Regions from separate parts of the Homo sapiens genome. Here region 2 is linked to region 1. The links are contacts of gene promoters, found by promoter capture Hi-C in human tissues and cell types (Jung and others, 2019). All regions are on one chromosome and are shown on one strand. The core of a region is centred on a gene start or on the middle of the fragment in contact, and the rest is flanking DNA. Distances in the headings are between cores, read along the strand shown.

Region 1 (7,065 bases), core at 1,796-4,295:
TGGCTTAATCCCTGGCCTTGAGGGTCCCGGGTCTGAGGAAGGAGGCCAGAGAGGTATCCAAGAGCTCCTGAAGGAAAAGAAACAGCTGGCCAGTAACTTTCAAAGGGTGACAGCATCCTGTGTGATGTCTACCCAACAAGGAGGGGTGTTATCTACAGATCATAAGCAAACAGGCAGACAGAAGGACTGAGAGGCAGATCCAGCAGAAGCATTCCCCTGTTTGTCAATTCTACTCCTGCAGCCTCCCCACCCATGACCAGCCCACTGGCCAGTCATGGGAGAGATCTCCACCCACAGAGAGCACAGGCTCTGGCTGACCAGAAGTCCCTGCAGCGGGGGTGGTATGTCCTCAGCCCTGCCCCACTCCCCTGGGTTCCTCAGTCCCTGGTTCCCTGGGAACCTGTATCATCTACAACAAAGGAGGGCCACCCCACCCTCGGGCCAGCCACCTCTCCTGCCTGGGGCTTCTGGTGACCACAGGATGTGTTTCAGAAATGGTTCTTGAAGTCAGGAGCCTCACCTGTCTATCCCCAGTCCTTCAGGGAAGCATTAGTGAAGAACTCTCCAGTAAAACTTTCTGTGGTGGTGGAATTGTACTATTACTTGCTGCCTGGTAGCCACTTGCCACATATGGCTACTGGACACTGTGGCCAATGATACTGAAGAACCAATTTAAAATTTGTATTTTGTTTTAATTATGTTAAATGTAGATTTAAATTGTTATATGTGGCCAGTTTGGCTACTGTATTGGGCAATGAAGCTCTAGAAACAAAAGGGGACAATACACCATGACTTGGGGCTTCAAAAACACTTTCACATTCATCTCATTGTCCTGTGAAATAGGTGTTTATCCCCATTTTACAGAGGAGAAAACTGAAGCTCAGAGAAACTAAACGGCTTCCATGCTGATGGAGCCAGGAAGAAGTAGAGACATGATTGAGTCCCAGGTTTCTTGATTTTGATTCCAAAAGTCCACTCATACCTCTTTGCAACACTGCCCACTTATGTAGTCATCACATATTTATTGGGTCATCGTTATTTAGGAGTACACTTCTGGGCTAGACACTTAAAAACAAATCAGATACAGGCCCAGGCTTTGCGAGAATCCTTGGACAAAAGCAGCGTAATTGCCACAGTAAGAATATGGGCATAAAAATTACTTTAAGTGACTTTCTTCCAAGTAGCTCAAAGCACTTTGCTTTAAATTCCATTTATATCTGATGACTTCCCAATTGATATTTCAGGCCCCAACCTGTGCCCAGAGAACTCTCAATGGGTATACCAAACAGCCTCCATTTGAATATTGAATTGGCTTGTCAAACTTGTCCCAAACTTGCTCTACCCCATCTCAATAAATAACAATTCCTTGCTTCCAGTGTTTCCACCGCCAAACCCTCTCTTCTCTTCACACCTTTCATCTAATCTATCAGCAAAAATTGTCAGCTCTGTCTTCAAGAAACATCCAGAATGCTCTCCATCTCTGCTACTGCCTCTCTAATCTATCAGCATCATCTCTAGCTGGACTGTAACAAACTGCTCTCCTGTGTTCCTCACTCTCCCCCCACTTTTTTCTACAAAGTAGCCAGAGTAATTTTTTCCTTTATTTTATTTTATTTTATTTATTTATTTATTTATTTATTTATTTATTTATTTATTTATTTATTTATTTTTGAGACGGAGTCTCGCTCTGTTGCCAGACTGAAGTGCAGTGGTGCAATCTCGGCTTGTTGCAACCTCCGCCTCCCGGTTTCAAGCCATTCTCTTGCCTCAGCCTCCCAAGTAGCTGGGATTACAAGCGCGCACCACCACGCCCAGGTAATTTTTGTATTTTTAATAGAGACAAGGTTTCACCATATTGGCCAGGATGGTCTCCATCTCCTGACCTTGTGATCCGCCCACCTCAGCCTCCCAAAATGCTGGGATTACAGGCGTGAGCCATCGCGCTGGCCCAGAGTGAATTTTTTTTTTTTTTTTTTTTTTTACGGAAAAGCCAGAGTATGCTACCTCTCAGCTTAAAGCCCCCAGTGCTTTCCCAAAGTCCTTTCAGTGATCCATAAGGCCCTAAAGCCCTGGCCTCTGATGCTTCTCTGACCTCATTTCCTATCACTCTGCTCCTTGCTCTTCTGGTCCAGCCACAACAGGTCTTCCTGGTCACTCCTTCCTGCAGCCACTGCACAGCTCATTCCCTCACCTCTCCTCCGATAAGCTGACTAAATGTTCCCTTTTCACAGAGGCACTCCCCATCACCTGACCGTGTTTCAATTTTCATCATAACACTTATCACCTCCTGACATTTAATATGTTTGCCTATTGTTGCTCTCCTCCCTCTAGAGTATAAATAAACTGCAGGAATAGATTGGCAGATAAGATACACGATGCTCAGTTAAACTTGCATTTCACATACACAATGAATAATTTTTTAGTGTGAGGATGTCCCAGATGTTGCATGGGATGTCTTAATGCTAAAAAATTGTTTGCTGTTTCTCTGAAATTCAAACTTTACTGGGTGTCCTACATTTTTATTTGCTAAATCTGGCAACACTATACAGGAAGACAAGGACCCTGGTTATTTTGTTCATGGCTGTATCCCCAGCGCTAGAACAGCTCCTGACACGTAGTAAGTAAGCTCTCAATAAATATTTATTGACTGAATGAATGTGTTAATTAATCTGAAACGCGCCTAAACTTTTAACAGCCTGTGTGAGAGTCAGAGAGGCGGAGCCTTCAGACTTGGTTAGTCCAGGGGGCGTGGGCGGCTGATGAACTTTCGAAGTAGGTCGAGCAGCCGGGCGCTTTGCCTGCCCCGCCCGCGCTCCGCAGGATGCAGGACTCCACCCGGCTCAGGTTCGCAGCAGGTCCCGGAAGCCCTCCTGGGGGCGGGGCCACCCTAATCGGCAGGTGGGACCCAGCCCCAGCCGGGGCAGGGCCCCTTTAACGCCCCACCTCTCCGCCACGACTTTCGCCCCGGCGTGACGTCACCCCAGCGGGCGACCAATGGGAGTGCGGCTTACTGGCAGGCGGCGCAGGCGGCCGCTGCCAAAGGGGAAGTGATCTGGGGCTGGAGCGATGGCCCGGGGCTGGAGCTCGCGGCCGCCGCCGCCGCAGCCGCCGCCACCAACGCCAACAACAACGTGTCGGGAGCAGCCGCGGCCGAAGCCGGAGCAGGGGCCGGAGTCGCGGCTGGAGTGGGGCCTGCGCGTGTGAGTGGCCGAGAGTTGCCCGTGCCGGAGACCTCAAACTCCGGGCGGGAGCGCTTTCGGTCGGCCGAGCCGCCGTCGCCCGCGGCACCGTGTCCCCAAGGCCCAGACAGCGGGGCGGGGGTCTATCAGGCGCGGGACTGGCTTCTCTCAGGCCGACCCTTCTAGCCGGGCTCCGGATCTTCCTCGGCCTCGGGCCCCCTTCACGTTCAGGACGGAGGCCGGAGAACGGTGATCATCACACACCCCAGCCGGCTTCCTGGCCAGGGCATTTTCTCTGCGGCCAAGCAGTGTTGGGATTGTAGCTGCTGGGAGCCCCCTCCTGCCGCCACCTCTCCTGCAAGGAAGGGACTGACGCGTTCCCACTTTCTTACTCTGCACCTCCCCACTCTCTTCCCATTCAAGAACGAGTTTCTCTTCCCTCTCCATTGGAAATCTTGCTCCGGAGGTCCGAAACACGTATTTTAAGCGTGCCCTTCCTCACCTCCTGGAGCACCCTTAGAAGTATTGCCTACTTATCCGGGCTGAGAATCCTTCATTTTTGACCTGGCTTTTTTTTCGCCCTTTGGGAGATAAAGGTCCCTCTCCACCCTCTACTAACACTCTGCACCCAAGGCCTTATCCTTTGGGGTCACCAGCTCCTTGGCCATTTCTATGTGATTTCCCCCACCCATCTGAGTTCCAGTTTCCTCTGGGCTCCAATCTCCAGTCCCTGGCGGATCTGGTCAGTCCCACCCCTAGGTGGGAGTGACCAGGGGGCTCTGGCCCAGGATTCCCAACCCTGGAAGGCAGCTCCAAGGCAGGAAGAGAATTGGGCATCGGGTACGAACCTGGCAGCTCAGGAGTCGGGGCTCCACTCACCCCACACAAAAAGATGAAAAAGCGCAAAGAGCTCAATGCATTGATTGGTTTGGCTGGGGACAGCCGGAGAAAGAAGCCCAAGAAAGGCCCAAGCAGTCACCGCCTGCTTCGCACTGAGCCTCCCGACTCAGACTCTGAGTCCAGCTCCGAAGAGGAAGAGGAATTCGGTGTGGTTGGAAATCGCTCTCGCTTTGCCAAGTGAGTAGTGGTGAAAGGTGGAATGGGAAGAAGGCATCTCCTTGCACTACCAAGGGGCCACATTGACAGGAAGGAGAAAGGAAGTCCTTAGGAAGAAAAAAGGGTGTAGGCCTTGGAAGTCAAAGAGGGAAAAACGGTTTTAGGGAGAAGGTAAGTTCAGATCCTGAATGAAGAATAAGTTAGAGATCTGTCTTTAGGTGTAGAAAGAAAAGCTCCAAATCTGAGGTGGAAATGTGGACTTGGAGAATGTGCCAAGAGCCCAGGGAGTCCTAAAGAAGCAAAGAATGGAGACAGAGGAGCAGAGAAGCTTTGGGGACTAGACTTTTTAAAACAGTGTAGAACAAAGGAGAAGCAGAGACTTTAAGACTGCAGATTATTTCGTTTTTGCACTCTTGATGAGTCTGAATATTGGTGGTGGGGAAATATGGTGAGAGATATACTGTAGGAAGTATGAGCCTTGAGAGTAGGTGGGGTCGGGGGGCAAAAGAAGAGGCATCATTTTCCCTAGCCATTCATAGGTGGAGAGACCACTAGGCAAATCAAGTAGTAAGATTTGAGGACATTGGGATTGGGGCTCAGGATGGGAAAGGACTAAAGGGAACTTCAAAAACGTCCTTTGACTCTCTCAGAGCACACTAAAAGAAAAGAGGATTCTGCTGAGGATGTAGAAACAATGGCTAGGCAGAAGGTCGGGGTGCTGACATTGAGTGGTTGGTTGGTTTAAAATGTCTTGTTTTGTTAAAGGAAGAGTTTGATTTCTAATGAGCTTTGTCAGCTAAGGCTGTTAAGGGCAATCCTGGGTTTGGGTTATGAAGATCAGTTGAAGTGTTACCTTCATCAGAAGGTACCTGGAGTAGTAACCCTACTAAGTTAGTTTAGACCTTGAAGGTTGGTTGATGTTTTGTGTGAAATCCAGCCCCTTCTATGTTTCCTTACTTCTGAGCCAATAAGCTAGAATACACCAGGTGTCCACTTAAAACTACAGATCCTGTTTCTTTCATTTCTTTTGCAGTAAAACTTGCTCAAAAGTTTATAAAGTTTCAGTAAACTGGAGCAAGGTTCCCCGGAGTGAGTATGTATTTCAGAGAGAAATCAATAGGCAAATTCCAGTGCAGAGATGGAATTGCAGAGAAACATTGGTCTTTACACTTTTGTGACCTGAGCTTGTATTCAAAGACCTCCCTCCTGATAATGACAGCTGCAGTGCCTTTAGGTTCTTCCTTTTACCTGCAGGAACTCCTTCTGTTTTATGTGACATTTGAAACCTTTGTATCCAGTAGATGAACCCTTAATAGGTCATATTATTTATTCATTTAAGTGCTTTACCCTGCCTCCCCTGGTTAATTCACTGGTTATTCATTTAAAGGAGATAATTGCATGGCAAAACGTGTACTATTGCTAATAAAGCTATACCCATAATCACTTTTGTACTCATGGTTGAATTTGTCCTCTTGAGCAGGGGAGACTATTTACGATGCTGCAAGATCTGTTATCCGCTCTGTGGTTTTGTCATCCTTGCTGCCTGTGTTGTGGCCTGTGTTGGCTTGGTGTGGATGCAGGTTGCTCTCAAGGAGGATCTGGATGCCCTCAAGGAAAAATTTCGAACAAGTAAGTAAGTGGTTACTCTCTTTTTTTTTTTTTTTTTTTTTTTTTTGAGACAGGGTCTTGCTCTGTCGCCTAGGCTGGAGTACAGTGGCGCAATCTCGGCTCACTGCAACATCCGCCACCCAGGTTCAAGTGATTCTCATGGTCAGCCTTCTGAGTAACTGGGATTACAGGTGTGTGCCACCACACCCAGCTAATTTTTTTGTCTTTTTAGTAGAGACGGGGTTTCACCATGTTGGCCAGGCTGGTCTCAAACTACTGACCTCAGGTGGTCCACCTACCTCGGCCTCCCAAAGTGCCAGGATTACAGGCGTGAGCCACCACACCCAGCAGTGGTCACTCTTTTCAGGGTGTAATCCTGGACTCCTTTCCAGGTTCTGGGACAAAGTCAACCCTGCTGAACGAAGATTTTTGCCCATTCTAGTGAAGCAATTATACGTTCCTCTCAGTATTTTTATACTCTTTTTGAGCTCTCTGCTTGAATGTTGTAACACTTATTTGTTTTTAAACTCACAAATAAAAGGCAGTGCTTATGCACCAGCAGGACAAGTAGCATCTGAAATAATGGCATTGCAGTCAATGCTTAGCGTGCAAAAGGCAAGAGACTCCTACCCTAGGGGTAGGAGTCTAGAACTTGGTGTAACCTCTACTTATGGCTTGCATCTCCCCAAGCATAAAGTGGCAATGACAACACTGGGCTATTCCTTCCACCTCACAGGGCCATTTGAGAAAGAATGTGGGAGCATCTGTCAAACGATTGCCTCTTTAGAAGGACTGAATAGGAGCATAGGAATGGGCAATAATAAGAGTAGCTAACATTTGTGGAAGGCCTACTCTGTGCCAAGTCTCAAATCATTTTCTTTACAAAATAATCCGGTGAGATGGGTATTATTTTTATTATTTTGTGCTCTTAGAAGGATTAAGTAATTTGTTCAGTGATTAAGTATGACAGAGCTGAGCGTCCTCTTGCCCCTTGCTGCCCAAATTCACATTTATAACACTACTGTCTGCACCACTGTTCCTGGTGGCCTTGTAAGCCTATGCACATTTCTTCAAGTGCCTACAGATCTCTTTGATATCAACTTGGTCAGTAATCTAAAAGAAGTTTAGTAGAAGAAACAGGAAGAACTGGTTTTCTGCATACTTATCAGTTTTCAAGCTTAGAGCAAGGACTGATAGATTTCTCTCCTTAGCTGTGCTTATA
Region 2 (7,065 bases), core at 1,778-4,277, 460 kb before region 1:
GGTTAAATCAACGTGACTCTCGGAGCTCCAGTTCACTGTAAATTAGGGCAGTAAATGATGTCTACATGATAAGTGGTGTTATGAATGTTAAACATTCACATGAAATACATAGAATAGTGCTTAGCATACAGTACACAATAACTGTTAGCTATTTGGAAAATTACTATTGTTATTATGATTATTTATTACAGAGTGAACTGAATTGGATGCAAGATCACGGTGCGTCAGAGCTAGCAAGATCCTTAGGATCATTTAGCCTGGTTTACTAATATTACACTATGGAATTTAAGCCCAAGGAATGGAGAGTACCCGACGAGCGTTATGTAAGGAGTCGAGTGAGAAGTAAGCTGGATGCTCTGCTTGGCTGGCAGGTACAGAATGTGCCAGACCCATCTGTACCAGCCTGGATCTCTTGAGGCATCAGCACAATGGACCTGGCCACACCAGTTTATTCCACACCGCTGAGGCTGGTACAGTTCTGGACATGGACTTTGTAAATAAATAACTGGGCCTTTGGTCAGTTCTAGCTGTGAGCTTGGAGGTATGGGGTGGGATGGTGAGGACAGGTGGGGGCAAAGTGAGGAAAGGGGCAGGGAGGAGAGGGGAGAGAGAAAAAGGGGAATGAGACAGGCTGAGCTAGTGAGCTGGAATTGGAGGTTGGGAACAGGCTTTCCTTGATGGTGGTGGTGCTGTTTTCTTTTTAATTTTAATTTAATTTTATTTTAAGTTCCAGGCTACATGTGCAGGATGTACAGGTTTGTTACATAGGTAAAAACATGGTGGTTTGCTGCAACTGTCAACCCATCACCTAGATATTAAGCCCAGCATGCATTAGCTATTTATCCTGATGCTCTCCCCACCCCTGCCCCAACAGGCCCCACTGTATGTTGTTCCCCTCTTTTTTGTTCACTTAAAAGATCCCACTTTTAAGTGAGAGTATGCAGTGTTTGGTTTTCTGTTCCTGTGTTACTTTGCTGAGGATAATGGCCTCCAGCTCCATCCATGTCCCTGCAAAGTACATGATCTCATTCCTTTTTATGTCTGCATAGTATTCCATGGTATATATGTACCATATTTTCCTTATCTAGTCTATCATTTATGGGCATTTGGGTTGATTCCATGTCTTTGCTACTGTGAATAGTGCTGCAATGAACATATGCTTGCATGTATCATTATTTTTTTATTTTTTTTGAGATGGAGTCTTACTCCCTCACCCAGGCTGGAGTGCAATGGTGCAATCTCTGCTCACTGCAACCTCCTCCTCCCGGGTTCAAGCAATTCTCGTGCCTCAGCCTCCCGAGTAGCTGGGACTACAGGTGCCTGCCACCACACCCGGCTAATTTTTTTGTTTTTTTGTATTTTTAGTAGAGACGGGGTTTTACCATGTTGTTCAGGCTGGTCTCGAACTCCTATCCTCAGATGATCCACCCTCCTGAGCTTCCCAAAGTGCTGGGATTACAGGCATGAGCAACCACACCCAGCCACATGTATCTTTATAATATAATGATTTATTCCTTTGGGTACACACCCAGCAATGGGATTGCTAGGTCAAATGCTATTTCTGGTTCTAGGTCTTTGAGGAATCACCACACTGTCTTCCACAATGGTTGTACTAATTTACATTTGCTGGTGCTGTTTTCTACATTGAATCTGAGGGCTACTGTATGATGTGTAAGACACTTTCTGATTGGAGCCTCACAATGATCCTACCAGGTGATTACAACTGAGCCCAAGTTTTAGAGGAAAAAAATGCAGACTCAGAGAGAGAAAAGTGATTTGCCCAAGGTCACATAGCCAGCTAGTGGCATTGAACCCTGGCCTTTTGACTTTAAATCTATTGCAAATTCTACCCCAGCATAGGGTTCTCTTTGGGGTGTGTGTGTGTGTGTGTGTGTGTGTGTGTGTGTGTGTGTGTGTGAAATGGGGAGATAAAGAAGCCAACAGTGTTTGCCTTTGCAGAGCATGCAGTCCATTTGGAAACATGCATGTGGGAAAGTGGGGAGGGACCCTGTCAAGCATCTAAGAGGAGTGGTGGCATTTGCTGTGTCCACCTCCATCCTTCCCACTCACTACTCAGCACCTATAGCCTTGTCGCTCTCCCCAACACTCTGCTGAGACTGTTGTCACCAAAAACACTATTGTCCGGCTCCCTGTTGAAAGGTAAGATGGTCTATCTGATTCTTCCGCTCTCAGTATAATAGGATGATCACCATTTTATCTGGGAAGCTGTTCCTGACCACCTGCCCTCAGCTCATCAAGCTTCTGTGAGCCTGCAGGCTCACCCTGGTCATGCCGCCCATCTCTCTGAACAAGATTGTGAACTCTGAACTTTGTGAGGCAAAGACCACATACACCTCTTTATTGCAATGTGCAAGTGTCCTGGAATATAGGAGGTCTCCGAGAGCTATGTGTTGACATGGAGACCTTATCCCTTGCACTCAGTTACACTGCTTCCAGTAAAGTATCAACTTCTAGATCAGCGCCTTCAGCTCCACTCCCTCCTGCACAGCTCCACAGGTACCTCAGGTCCAAAATGGAATTCTTGATCTTTCACCAACCTGAGTCCTCTGTTCCTGTAAGTGGCATCCATTCACCCAGACCAGAGATAGGGGAGTCACCCAGAATCCCCCTCTCCCTCAGTCCCTGAGTTTCACTTTCCAACATATCTCCCTCCAGGTTCTTTCCAACACATCTCCCTCCAGGTTCAAGCCTCGATCTTGCCTGATGTTTGCAGCTGCCTGCTCCCTTGTTTTTATTTTTACCCCCAAGTTTTCCTCTACACTGCAGCTAGGGAGACCTTTCCTGCTGGAATACAGCCATTCACATCTGCGAGAGGAATCTAAACTCAAGGCAGGTGTAGCCTAGTGGCTATGTGCATGAGCTTGAAGCCAAATTTCCCTGAGCAAATCCCATCCTGCCAATTTTATATTAGTGGGATGTACCCCAACGAGGGTATATCAGGGACTGAATATGCAAATTAGGGATAAAATGAGGCCCATCTTATGAGGTTGTGGTGAAGAGTAAATGGATGTAAAGAAAGCATGCAGTATGCTCAGTGAATGACAGCCATCGTGATTTTCCTTTCCTTGCCTGCAATATCTCGAGCAGCCACTAGATGACTCCACCTCCTTCTCCCTTTCCAGTGCTGCCAACACTACTGCTGGAACTTCTGCCTCCCCTCCCCTCCCTCACCACACATCTCCATGCCCGTGTTGTTCATGTTTTTCCTTCTGCTAGCCTCACCGTCTTCGGGGCGTCTCCCTGACATCTTTTACTACATCTCACCCTCAGCTCTTGGAGGACGGGATGTCCCCACGAAAACTGGCATAGTGCCTGCATTGAACAAGTACTCAGTGTTTGCTGAATGAATGAATGTGGGTTAGTCAATACTAGCTCAGCTGCTTACATCACTTAGCCTCCCCGGGTCTCAGGATCTCCTTTTATCTGTGGTGACCATCCAATGTAAAGCCCTAGCATAAGACCTAGCATGCTTTAGACCCATGGTTGCCGTGCACAGCCAGCTGCCTGTCAATCATTGCCCATTCCCATTGCCCACTAGCCATTGTCCACTCTATGTTCACCCCTGTTACCTCACCCAGCTGAGGGTCTTAAACATAGTTTTACCTCTTCTCAAAGGTCATTCTTTACTTGGTAGGGTAGGGTCTAGAAAGAGTCTGCAATTTGGTTAGAGTCTAGATTTAGTTTGCAACCCAGCTGGGCTGGGTGAGCCCAGGCTTGGCTGATGGTTCAGCTGAGCCCAGATGGCTCCCATCTGCCTGGAAAGCATAGGCTCAGCCTCCCCCTTCCCTGAACCCCTACCAAGCATCCTGGCTGGCTGTGCTCCTGGTCCTCTTTTACTCTAGTCCAGTTCCTGTCCTGGCTTGGGCTGGGGGTAAGGGCACTTGTTTCTGGCCACTCCTCATGGATCTCTAGTCTCTGCCTCTGTCTTTGCCTGCTTGACCCTGGTCCTTGTGCCACTTACATCAATGTCCTGAAGCAATGACTATTTTTTATAGGACCGACTCTCAGGAGATGAAGATCCAATCACTCTATCAAAGAATATGAGCATTTCCGAGGCTCTTGTAAGGTACATGCTTTCTATTGTTTTCCTTAAGGGTTGAATCCATCTACACTTAATCAATTCCACCACAGTGTAAACAGTGTGTGTGGAGGGGCGTGGGGGTGATGGTGGACTAACAGAGGCTGAACACTTTCCAAAAACTTGTTCCCAAAGTTTATTGCTTTCTCCATATGTAATACCAGTTCCTGTTCTCTGTATTGGTTGCAATATCTTTTTTTTTTTTTTTTTTTTGAGATGAAGTCTTTCTCTGTCACCCAGGCTGGAGTGCAGTGGTGCGATCTCTGCTCACCGCAACCTCCGCCTCCCGGGTTCAAGCAATTCTCCTGCCTCAGCTTCCCGAGTAGCTGGGATTACAGGCGCACGGCACTATGCCCGGCTAATTTTTGTATTTTTAGTAGAGATGGGGTTTCACTGTGTTGGCCAGGCTGGTCTGGAACTCCTGACCTTGTGATCCGCCCCCCCTTGGCCTCCCAAAATGCTGGGATTACAGATGTGAACCACCGCGCCCGGCCTGCTTGCAATATCTTGAACAGCCACAAGATGGCAGAACTTATATAGTTACTGGTTCAGCATTGATCGTCCCATGAATGTGAAGTTTACTTTTTGTCCTTTACCTGTTCAGTTGGGCACTGCCCTGGTGTTATGGACTGAATGTGAAAACTGATGAGAAGATCAATACTGGACCAGGAACTCCCCCATTACCAGTGCATAGAGGGGAGTCTGCCCAGGCTGGGGGTCTGAGTGGAGTGGCCATTGATGGATCCTTGGGGAGATGTGAGGGCAGATAGAACCCTGGCTAGAAGTCAGGTGTTCGGGATGCTAGAACTGGCCTTGCCCTGCCTCAAGTTCAGCTACCATTCATTTCTTGAGGACTATCTCTATGCCGTATTTTGTCCAACCACCACAGTGAAAGCACCCATCACCAGGGTTTGTGTCTTAGGCAGTTGGTTGTTTTATAGAGGTCTCAGGCAATGCAAAGCCCAAGACAAAACTGTGTGGTCATGGCGACCTGGCAATCTTTATTAAAATGGAAGCTCTGATGGCTGAATTTGTAAACCAGGTCGTTGTGATGCAGGAAAGTATTCTGGCAAGGGTGGATGAGTTTGGTAATGTTAGACACCACTTCTGGGCAGGAGTCTAAGGGTTCCGGAAGAGAAGAGGTGGAGCAGCATACTAACGGATGAAATGACTGGTGGCGAATGAGTTTACTTCTTGTCCTTTACTCATAACCTGTTCACTTGGGCACTGCCCTGGTGTTATAGACTGAATGTATGTGTCCCCCTCAAATTCATGTGTTTAAATCTTAGCCCCCAGTGTGATGTTATTAGAAGGTGGGGCCTTTTGGAAAAAATTAGGTCATGAGGATGGAGCCCTCATGAATGAGATTAGTGCCCTTATAAAAGGGACCCCAGCAAGCTCTCTTGCTCTCTTTCTGCCGTGTGAGGACACAGCGAGAGGACAGCAGTCTGCAGCCCCGAAGAGAGCCCTCACCAGCACCTGACCACGCTGCACCCTAATTTCAGACATCCAGCCTCCAGAACTGTGAGTACTATGCTGAAGAGAGCCCTCATCAGCACCTGACCAACCTGACCATGCTGCACCCTCATCTTAGACGTTCAGCCTCCAGAACTGTGAATACTATGCTGAAGAGAGCCCTCACCAGCACCTGACCATGCTGCACCCTCATCTCAGATGTCCAGCCTCCAGAACTGTGAGTACTACATTTCTGTTGCTTATAAGTGATCCATTCTGTGGTATTTTGTGAGAGCAGCCTGAATGACTACCTTGTGACTGAAGGTATACTTCATAATAGTGTTCGGGGTCACTGGGAAATGTGTTCAGAAGATTTCAGATGTGCATCAGCAATGGTCTTCTTCCATTTGTCCTGGAAAGAGATGAAAATCACATCACAAAAATGCTCATCAGTGTCTACTGGCCCTTTTCCTTACATATGCCTGAAACTCCAACCTCTATGGGTGCCTTTTAGTGCTTGTTTGGGCTGTGACATAGAGAGAAATTGAACAAAATAAATGTACAGTATAATTACAACTACTGTAAAGCAAAGCAATTTGCAAACATCAAAAGGAAATCCTGTGTCCAAACTGCCTACGTCCTATGGACCACACTGTGGGGCTCTGACAGTATTCTGTGTGACTGCCAGAAGATAACTTGACCCTCTTTAGCTAAAGGTAACACCAACCAGAGTCTCTATGATCTCTCACACACAATGCTCAGCATTTAATAAGAAATCAGTAGGCATGATGACCCATTCACCAAAAGCCAAAGAAAAACCAAAGCAGACAACAGAAATAATCCCATAGGAGAAACAGATATTGAGTATTCAGACAGAAATATTAAAATAGCCATGATTAATATGTTTTAGAAAATAGAGAGAAAGATGGAGCATCTCATCAAAGAGTTCCATCTATAAAAAGAGTGAAATGGGAATTCTGTAATTTTTATTTTATTTTTAATTTATTTATATATATATACATATATTTTTTATTATAGTTTAAGTTTTAGGGTACATGTGCACAACGTGCAGGTTAGTTACATACGTATACATGTGCCATGTTCGTGTGCTGCACCCATTAACTCGTCATTTAACATTAGGTATATCTCCTAATGCTATCCCTCCCCCCTCCCCCCACCCCACAACAGGCCCCGGTGTGTGATGTTCCCCTTCCTGTGTCCATGTGTTCTCACTGTTCAATTCCCACCTATGAGTGAGAACATGCGGTGTTTGGTTTTTTGTCCTTGTGATAGTTTGCTGAGAATGATGGTTTCCAGCTTCATCCGTGTTCCTACAAAGGACATGAACTCATCCTTTTTTATGGCTGCATAGTATTCCCTGGTGTATATGTGCCACATTTTCTTAATCCAGTCTATCATTGTTGGACATTTGGGTTGGTTCCAAGTCTTTGCTATTGTGAATAGTGCTGCAATAAACATACGTGTGCATGTGTCTTTATAGCAGCATGATT

Evidence for each region. Contacts are between HindIII fragments. The study calls those that stand out against the background at their distance.
Region 2: a fragment that was not itself captured here is called in contact with the fragment with the promoter of EFCAB14 in region 1 in 1 of the 25 tissues and cell types used here (mesendoderm cells).

What each region holds. Positions count from the first base shown.
Region 1 is chr1:46,715,094-46,722,158 of GRCh38, reverse strand. It overlaps EFCAB14 (EF-hand calcium binding domain 14), which reads left to right and starts at 3,045. Exons shown (of 11, transcript NM_014774.3): 1 at 3,045-4,256; 2 at 5,716-5,864. The coding sequence starts at 4,072. RefSeq lists silencers at 2,821-2,870, 3,191-3,240. The HindIII fragment of the contact is 12,522 bases long and covers 1-5,792 here.
Region 2 is chr1:47,171,576-47,178,640 of GRCh38, reverse strand. It overlaps CYP4A22-AS1 (CYP4A22 antisense RNA 1), which reads left to right. Exons shown (of 6, transcript NR_199717.1): 2 at 192-516; 3 at 1,572-1,713; 4 at 4,017-4,087; 5 at 5,605-5,792. Among named protein-coding and RNA genes, the nearest start is that of LINC00853, 4.1 kb to the left of the region's middle. RefSeq lists a silencer at 4,470-4,764. The HindIII fragment of the contact is 5,152 bases long and covers 452-5,603 here.